2 separate regions of the Homo sapiens genome follow, and region 1 is linked to region 2. The links are contacts of gene promoters, found by promoter capture Hi-C in human tissues and cell types (Jung and others, 2019). All regions are on one chromosome and are shown on one strand. Each heading gives the region's core, a stretch centred on a gene start or on the middle of the fragment in contact. The rest is flanking DNA. Distances are from core to core; before and after follow the strand shown.

Region 1 (4,643 bases), core at 1,349-3,848, 410 kb before region 2:
GAGAGCTGAACTCAAAAACCGGAGTGGGAGCTAGAATTGAAGCCAAGTGATGCAGAGTGTTTAGGGACCAGATAAACGTCTTCGAAGCTTGTTACGGTATTTTCAATATAAACATTTTTATCATGAAAAATTTTAAACAGACATAAAAAGTAGTGAGAATGGCGCAACGAACTTCCATAGAACACATCACCCAGATTCATCAAGGGAACGCCCGCCTGGCTCAGTTTCCGGGCCTGGGGTTTCTTCGTTCTAACCGTGGGTGATTTTGTTTCCATCCAAGCTTCCTGATTCCAAGCTGTGTCCCCAGGCTGCTGGGTAGTTTTTCTGGTAGAGTTCCCTTTCGAGAATGGGCATTTCCCACCTGGCGCTGGCTAGTTCCAGCCCCTGCTCCGTACAGGCCTGGGGCTTCCACTTCCTTCCCCATAGAGGCCCCCTCTGTTTCCAGGGACCCTGGCAGAAGCAAATCCCAAACCATTCCTTAGGGAATTCTTCATGACCCAGAGCCTGCATGGGACACGGGACAATTTCCACTGAAGACAAACTCAAATTCAAAATTAATAGAGCAGGCCAGGCGCGGTGGCTCACACCTGTAATCCCAGCACTTTGGGAGGCTGAGGCGGGTGGATCACCCGAGGTCAGCAGTTTGAGACCAGCCTGAACCAACATGGTGAACCCCATCTCTACTAAAATACATAAATTAGCTGGGCATGGTGTGGGCGCCTGTAATCTCAGCTACTCAGGAGGCTGAGGCAGGAGAATCGCTTGAACCCAAGAGGTGGAGGTTGCAGTGAGCCAAGATCACACCACTGCACTCCAGCCTGGGTAACAAGACCAAGACTCCGTCTCAAAAAAAAAAATTAATAGAGCATACAGTTCTCCCTCATTTTTTTGAGAGGGAGTCAGCTGACCCTGAAGATGGGAAAACAGATTCGTCACAAAGGGACTTTAAAATTAGGTGTGTTTAATATTCAAAGCTCTAAAGGAAAGGATAGGACTTGTAAGACAAGAACAGAACATTATGAAAAGAGAACCGGAAAATGTTTAAAAGACTAATATTCGAAAATACCAGAAGTGAAAAATATGTATTAAAATAAAAAATGGAATAATTAGGTGAGTTAATGAGTAGACTACACCTAGTTGAAAAGAAAAGTGAATTAGAAGCTAGATCTGAGGAAATCAGCGTCAATGCAACACAGGGAAGGGTGAGGGAGAACGAAGGCTGTTTGTGGCACTGCCTGACTCGAGTGGCCTGTGGCCCATTGGCCATGGGTTGGCGTATGGGGAGAACAGAAGGAGAAGAGGCTGGACAGTGGGCAGGGTCTGAGTGTGAAAGGCTTGAAGGCCAAGATAAGGCATGTAGGTTTTGTCTTGGGGCAGTAGGGAGCCAGAGAAGGTTTTGGAACAGGGCAGTCCGTGTAAAATGTGTGTCTCGGGCCGGGCGCGGTGGCTCACGCCTGTAATCCCAGCACTTTGGGAGGCTGAGGCGGGTGGATCACGAGGTCAGGAGATCGAGACCATCCTGGCTAACATGGTGAAACCCCGTCTCTGCTAAAAATACAAAAAATTAGCCGGGTGTGGTGGCGGGTGCCTGTAATCCCGCTACTCGGGAGACTGAGGCAGGGGAATGGCATGAACCCAGGAGGCGGAGCTTGCAGTGAGCCGAGATCGCGCCACTGCACTCCAGCCTGGGCGACAGAGCGAGACTCCGTCTCAAAAACAAAACAAAAACAAACAAACAAAAAAGATGTGTGTCTCAGGATATTCATTCTGGGACCAAGTGTGGGAAGGGGCAGCAGAGGAAGCTGAAGGCTACTCAGGGCCGGGGTTTGTAGGCTCACGAGGAAGTGCCAGGATGGGGATGGGGGAACGGAGGGAGAGTGGGGACAGAGGAAGAGCCAGCTCAAACCGAAACCAGACAGTGCCTCTGTTTTGGGGGTAAGTCTCCTTCTGCCTGTTCTCCCCTCCCGTCTTTGGCCAGCCCAGCGACTCCTGCTTCAGCAGACTTGGGTTCTGAAGGCACAGCCGGGCAGCCCCTGCGGCTGTTCCCCAAAGCCCTCCTTTTCAAGGAGTGGCCCCAAAACCTCATTCACCCTGAGGCCTGAGAGCCCAACACAAGGTTTACATCCTGAGTAGGGGATCACAGAGCAGGTGTTCCCGTCCTTCCACCGGGAAGTCTGAGCGTGGTGAGCTTTCAGGCGCTGATGGGGCCATCTGTCCTGAGCATTCTCCGTCAGCTTGGCCAGCCCAGGCCGTCCCTTGGATGGCAGAGCCTGGCCCCCGCCCCACCCATGCCTGCCTGAGCACCCTCCCTGCCCACAGGATGTGGAGGATGGTAGGTCTTCTCCAAATAACAGATCAGCCATGTAAAAATAGCCGTGGCTCAGCCCAGGCCGAAGCAAGGGCTGAATGCAGGCTCCAAGGCCACAGGGCGGGGGCTCAGGGCTCCCTCAAGCTCAGACTTGCCCTTTCCTGCTCCAAAACTGCTTTCTGGGGTCATACAGGCCATGTGTGCCATGGGGATGGCTCCGCTCACCATGGACAGGGGTCCTGGGGCTGCCCACCAGGACACCGAGGGCCCGTGGGGGTTCTGAGCTCTGGGCTGCCGTGAGAGGTGGACAGCACTGGCTTTCTGACGGCCTCCTGCCAGCCTGGCGAGGAGGAGGGAGTGAGGCCCTGGCCCAAGACCCCGAGGCAGGCGGGCTGGTCTGACCCCTCCCTCCCTGCTGTCACGGCCCTGCCCGCTCGGCCCTGGCTCCCTGCCCTGCCTCTCCATTGTCCTAGACCTGTGGGCTCAGCACACCCTCCACAGGATGTCCCTGCGGGAACTGCTGGGAAAGCCGCCCCTACCAAAACCAGGGGTGGGGCTGCCAGTCTGCCCAGAAAGCTCTCCTCAAACAAACAAAGACCACGGGATTGCGGGGTGGTGGGCAGGGGAAGCTTCTAGCTTGGAGGCCCAGCCCAGGCTGGTCTTTATTCTCAGCAGAGTTGCCTGCTGGCCTCTGTGTCCCCATCGGACACAGTCCACATGGGCAAGGCTTCGCCTATCCTGTCCCTTCTGCCAGGAACATTCTCTCAGCCCCCTCCCCGTCCCTACCCTGATTGTGTTCAGGCCCCTCCATGGCCTGTGACCTCCAGGGGGCCAGGCGGGGTCCTCCCTCCTGTCTGTCCTGAGCAGAGAGAGGGCAGCAGTGATGGATCCCACCTCCCTCCTGACCCTGGACTGCCATGTCCCAAGGGAAGACACTGAGGGGCAGGCTGGTCCAGACTGTGCCTTCCTAATTTGGTCTGTCATCTCGGGCAACTTCCTCCACCTCTTGGGGCCTCAGTGACCTCAGCTGTTAGATAGGGATGGACGTGGGGAGGATCAGGTGAGCTAAGGGCACGTAGGTGCTTGGGCAAGTTCATCAGGCTGGGGCCGGTGGGTGGGGACGGGGCGTGCCAGCTTCTGCCAGGAGTCCACCTGCAGTCCTGGGGACTTCTGCCCATCTAAGTGAGGAGCCAGAAACCAGGGAGGGGTTGAAAGAGCTAAGAAGGGCCCGTGCTTCCTGCTCCACTGTGGGCAAGAGGAGAGAATGGAGCATGATGGCCGGGGTCTGGCGAAGGTCTGGGTCACGTCCCTCCAGTCCCTCGTCACCCCCCCGGGAGGGGGCTTTTTCAAGGATCCTACCATGGTGTTGGGGGGCGGGGTGGAGAGAGCGCGCTGTGGTTCTCTGCCGCCTTCTAAACACCAAACCCTGTCCTGGTCTTTAGCCCAGTCCTCCCTCCACAGCCTCATCTCTCGCTGCTTCCTCTTGAGCATCCTCAGGCCATGGCCTGACCTGTCTCCTTGCTGTCCTCAGCAGGCCCTGAACTTTCCCTGACCTTGGGAACATCAGCTGGGACCTTCCCCCTTCCCAGCATGGCAGTCTGGGGAGTGATTTAGAGCAAGGACTCTGGAGTCTGCCAAACTGGGATTTAAATTCTGGCTCAGCCGCACACTCGCTGTGTGACATCACTTCTTTTGGCCTCCATTGTCTCCTCTGTAAAATGAAGAGAACAGAATCAAAAGAGATCATCTGTGCATATGTCAAGGCTGCATGCTGGGCCTTGCCTATATATCCATAAATAATAACTGCAGTTATCATGAACACTAAGCATCATGCCTCGTGAACCATTATACAATATTGCTGATCTGAAGTTTATATTTCAGCGTATATTCTTGATGTTAAGTATTATCTTAGCGGTAAACTCCTATGCATGCTTCAGTGCCCAGCTTTGTCACCACCGCCTCCGGGAAGCCTCTCTTCATTATCCTGGCAGGATCTGGAGCTCCTTGGTGGTTCCCCAACATAGGTTGTCCTTTAAACAGAGCAACCTATGAACAAGATCTGCCCCTGGCCAGACAGGGGGAAACTTCTCTTCTGATTCCTTCTGTCCACTTGCCACCTAGCACAGACAGGCACAGGGAGAACAATTCCTCCTCCTCCCCCAACATGTGTCAGTCCTGATGCAACTGGAAATCTCCCTCCTGCCACATTCTGATCTGATCTCAGGCAGGTCCTTGGAGGCAGGCCCAGCAGGAAAAATTCTTTTTCTAAATGTGAGGAAATAATTTCTGCCTTGACTAATTTAAACAAGGGCCCAGTGTTGACCAAGGCCGGCCT
Region 2 (5,056 bases), core at 950-3,449:
TATGAGCAAATGTGCAGTTCTGAAAGACCACTCCAGTGGAGAATAAAGAGAAGAAAGGGAATTGGGAAGTTGGGAGACCAGCAAGGAGGCTGTTGCAGGGAAGCAGTAGCGAGAAGATGGTGCCCTGGGCAGGGCATGGTGGCTCACGCCTGTACTCCTAGCACTTTGGGAGGCCGAGGTGGGAGGATCGCTTGAGCCCAGGAGTTTGAGACCAGCCTAGGCAACAAACAAATGTTTTTCTGTCTCTAGAAAAAAATTTTTAAATCAGCCAGGTGTGGTGGTGCATGCCTGTAGTCCCAACTCCTTGGGAGGCTGAAGCAGGAGGATCCCTTGGGTCCAGGAGTTTGTCCTTGAGTGAGGCATGATTGCGCCACTGCACTCCAGCCTGGGAGACAGAGCAAAGGAGACCAGCCTGGACAACATGGTAAAACCCCGTCTCTACTAAAGATATGAAAAATTAGCCGGGCATGATGGCGGGTGCCTGTAATCCCAGCTACTCAGGAGGCTGAGGCAGGAGAATTGCTTGAACCCAGGAGGCAGAGGTGGCAGTGAGCCGAGATGGAGCCATTGCACTCCAGCCTGGGAGACAGGGCAAGACTCCATCTCAAAAAAAAAAAAAAAAAAAAAGAAGAAGAAGAAGAAAGGAGGAAGAGGAGGAAGAAGAAGAGGAGGAGGAGGATATGAACAAGAAACAACAACAACCTTGGACTAGGAATGCTGGCAGGATGGTGTGGATGGAGAGTAGATTTGAGAGAGACGGGAGATAAAATCACCAGGACTTGGTGATGGGGATGAAAGACGGGAGACGTTAGAGATGACTATTAGGGATTTTGTTTGTGTTGACTGAATGGTTAGGTAAATGAGTGGATGATGGTGCCACTCACCAGGCTGAGCAACACAGGAGGAGAAGCCATTTGGAGAGAGATGGTGAGTTCAGCTTTGAACATATTGTTTTGGTGTCTGTGGGACATCCAAGTAGAGATGTCCAGAAGGCAGCTGGACATATGTGCTTGTGTCTCAGGAGAAGGGTCTGGACTAGAGACATAGATTTGAGAGTCATTAGGTTGTAGGTGGTGGTTGAAGGCAAGGGAATGGATGAGGATAATCTCAGGTGGTTGCATAGCGTAAGAAAAGAAGAGAATGCCGGGCGCGGTGGCTCATGCCTCTAATCCCAGCACTTCGGGAAGCCAATGTGGGTGGATCACTTGAGATGAGGAGTTCGAGACCAGGCTGACCAACATGGTGAAACCCCGTCTCTACTAAAAATATAAAAATTAGCTGGGAATGAAGACAGCCTAAGCACAAACTCTGGGGGCAGTTTAATTGTTCAAGAAGGGGAATCTATGAAGGAGACTGAGAAGGCCCAACCAAACAGGTAAGAAGAAAACCAAGAAAATTACAGGGTCATGTGTCACAGAGGCCAAAAGGAGAATCCCAAGGGGCGAGTGGCCATGGGTATGCAGGCTGCCGAAATAAAGTAAGATCACAGTGGAGAAGTTTCCCATGGATGTAGAGGAGGGAGAGCATTAAAGACCTTGGTAAGAACCGAGTCAATGGAGTAGCAGGGGAAAGAAATCAGCATAGACTGGGGTGAGAAGGCAGAGAGAAAGGTGGGAGAGAATTAAAAGTAGGCAACTCTCAGAATGCAGCTGTGAAGAGGAAGAGAAGCGGGCATCTGGAGAGGTTTTTTTGTTTTTAAGATGGAGTTTTGCTCTTGTCACCCAGGCTGGAGTACAATGGCACGATCTCGGCTCACCGCAACCTCTTTCCACCTCCCGGTTTCAAGCGATTCTCCTGCCTCAGCCTCCCGAGTAGCTGGGATTACAGGCATGCGCCACCACGCCTGGCTAATGTATTTTTAGTAGAGACAGGGTTTCCCCGTGTTGGTCAGGCTGGTCTCGAACTCCTGACTTCAGGTGATCCGCCCGCCTCAGCCTCCCAAAGTTCTGGGATTACAGGCATGAGCCACGCGCCCGGCCCTGGAGAGGTTTTTAAAAGATGGCAGAAGGCTGTTTGGAGGAGTCCACCCCCATCTCCCCTGTGTAAAAGGAAAGCGGAAGAGAGAACCACAAAGAGGGCCTGGGGGAAAGCCGTGGAGTGAGGCGATAAGGGCTTGTGTCCAGGGGATTCCCGGTCACTGGAATCCCTATCAGGCCTGCATTTCCTCCTCACCCCCATCCCCTTCCTTGCCACTGGCTTAGTCCTCCATGGGGCTAGAAGAGAGAAGGACGGAGTCGAGTGGCACCCTAGAAGACGCTCTGTGCCTTCGGAGGTCTTTCTGCCTGCCTGTAAGCCGGGGTTGGTGCTGGGGCAGGAGAGGGGTCTGAGGGAGGGGAAAGAGCCAAGGACCTGGAGCTAGTAGTTTTAAGTTCTGCAGGCAAGGGTGGGAGATGGGAGTAGGGAGGACAGGAGGTGTGGATGCTGTTTCTGGAAGCGAAGCTGCAGGGGGAAGGGGGCTGGGGCCTGGGGGGATGCTTCCAGGGGATGCAGGGGGATCCACTCAAGGCTCCCTTGCCCACAGGTCCTCATGCCTCTCCTCCTCTTGCTGCTCCTGCTGCCAAGCCCCTTACACCCCCACCCCATCTGTGAGGTCTCCAAAGTGGCCAGCCACCTAGAAGTGAACTGTGACAAGAGGAATCTGACAGCGCTGCCTCCAGACCTGCCGAAAGACACAACCATCCTCCACCTGAGTGAGAACCTCCTGTACACCTTCTCCCTGGCAACCCTGATGCCTTACACTCGCCTCACTCAGCTGAACCTAGATAGGTGCGAGCTCACCAAGCTCCAGGTCGATGGGACGCTGCCAGTGCTGGGGACCCTGGATCTATCCCACAATCAGCTGCAAAGCCTGCCCTTGCTAGGGCAGACACTGCCTGCTCTCACCGTCCTGGACGTCTCCTTCAACCGGCTGACCTCGCTGCCTCTTGGTGCCCTGCGTGGTCTTGGCGAACTCCAAGAGCTCTACCTGAAAGGCAATGAGCTGAAGACCCTGCCCCCAGGGCTCCTGACGCCCACACCCAAGCTGGAGAAGCTCAGTCTGGCTAACAACAACTTGACTGAGCTCCCCGCTGGGCTCCTGAATGGGCTGGAGAATCTCGACACCCTTCTCCTCCAAGAGAACTCGCTGTATACAATACCAAAGGGCTTTTTTGGGTCCCACCTCCTGCCTTTTGCTTTTCTCCACGGGAACCCCTGGTTATGCAACTGTGAGATCCTCTATTTTCGTCGCTGGCTGCAGGACAATGCTGAAAATGTCTACGTATGGAAGCAAGGTGTGGACGTCAAGGCCATGACCTCTAACGTGGCCAGTGTGCAGTGTGACAATTCAGACAAGTTTCCCGTCTACAAATACCCAGGAAAGGGGTGCCCCACCCTTGGTGATGAAGGTGACACAGACCTATATGATTACTACCCAGAAGAGGACACTGAGGGCGATAAGGTGCGTGCCACAAGGACTGTGGTCAAGTTCCCCACCAAAGCCCATACAACCCCCTGGGGTCTATTCTACTCATGGTCCACTGCTTCTCTAGACAGCCAAATGCCCTCCTCCTTGCATCCAACACAAGAATCCACTAAGGAGCAGACCACATTCCCACCTAGATGGACCCCAAATTTCACACTTCACATGGAATCCATCACATTCTCCAAAACTCCAAAATCCACTACTGAACCAACCCCAAGCCCGACCACCTCAGAGCCCGTCCCGGAGCCCGCCCCAAACATGACCACCCTGGAGCCCACTCCAAGCCCGACCACCCCAGAGCCCACCTCAGAGCCCGCCCCCAGCCCGACCACCCCGGAGCCCACCTCAGAGCCCGCCCCCAGCCCGACCACCCCAGAGCCCACCTCAGAGCCCGCCCCCAGCCCGACCACCCCGGAGCCCACCCCAATCCCGACCATCGCCACAAGCCCGACCATCCTGGTGTCTGCCACAAGCCTGATCACTCCAAAAAGCACATTTTTAACTACCACAAAACCCGTATCACTCTTAGAATCCACCAAAAAAACCATCCCTGAACTTGATCAGCCACCAAAGCTCCGTGGGGTGCTCCAAGGGCATTTGGAGAGCTCCAGAAATGACCCTTTTCTCCACCCCGACTTTTGCTGCCTCCTCCCCCTGGGCTTCTATGTCTTGGGTCTCTTCTGGCTGCTCTTTGCCTCTGTGGTCCTCATCCTGCTGCTGAGCTGGGTTGGGCATGTGAAACCACAGGCCCTGGACTCTGGCCAAGGTGCTGCTCTGACCACAGCCACACAAACCACACACCTGGAGCTGCAGAGGGGACGGCAAGTGACAGTGCCCCGGGCCTGGCTGCTCTTCCTTCGAGGTTCGCTTCCCACTTTCCGCTCCAGCCTCTTCCTGTGGGTACGGCCTAATGGCCGTGTGGGGCCTCTAGTGGCAGGAAGGAGGCCCTCAGCTCTGAGTCAGGGTCGTGGTCAGGACCTGCTGAGCACAGTGAGCATTAGGTACTCTGGCCACAGCCTCTGAGGGTGGGAGGTTTGGGGACCTTGAGAGAAGAGCCTGTGGGCTCTCCTATTGGAATCTAGTTGGGGGTTGGAGGGGTAAGGAACACAGGGTGATAGGGAGGGGTCTTAGTTCCTTTTTCTGTATCAGAAGCCCTGTCTTCACAACACAGGCACACAATTTCAGTCCCAGCCAAAGCAGAAGGGGTAATGACATGGACTTGGCGGGGGGACAAGACAAAGCTCCCGATGCTGCATGGGGCGCTGCCAGATCTCACGGTGAACCATTTTGGCAGAATACAGCATGGTTCCCACATGCATCTATGCACAGAAGAAAATCTGGAAAGTGATTTATCAGGATGTGAGCACTCGTTGTGTCTGGATGTTACAAATATGGGTGGTTTTATTTTCTTTTTCCCTGTTTAGCATTTTCTAGTTTTCCACTATTATTGTATATTATCTGTATAATAAAAAATAATTTTAGGGTTGGGAGTGATGGCTCATGCCTGTAATCCTAGCACTTTGGGAGGCCGAGGCGGGTGGATCACCAGAGGTAGGGAGTTCGAGACCAGCCTGGCAAACATGGTGAAACCCT

The links. Contacts are between HindIII fragments. The study calls those that stand out against the background at their distance.
Region 1: a fragment that was not itself captured here is called in contact with the fragment with the promoter of GP1BA in region 2 in 1 of the 25 tissues and cell types used here (dorsolateral prefrontal cortex).

What each region holds. Positions count from the first base shown.
Region 1 is chr17:4,516,811-4,521,453 of GRCh38, forward strand. The region is part of intron 2 of SPNS2 (SPNS lysolipid transporter 2, sphingosine-1-phosphate); the gene reads left to right. Among named protein-coding and RNA genes, the nearest start is that of SPNS2, 20 kb to the left of the region's middle. The HindIII fragment of the contact is 4,831 bases long and covers 184-4,643 here.
Region 2 is chr17:4,930,078-4,935,133 of GRCh38, forward strand. It overlaps GP1BA (glycoprotein Ib platelet subunit alpha), which reads left to right and starts at 2,200. Exons shown (of 2, transcript NM_000173.7): 1 at 2,200-2,288; 2 at 2,522-4,946. The coding sequence starts at 2,528. The coding sequence ends at 4,486. RefSeq lists an enhancer at 4,246-4,465. The HindIII fragment of the contact is 8,753 bases long and covers 2,181-5,056 here.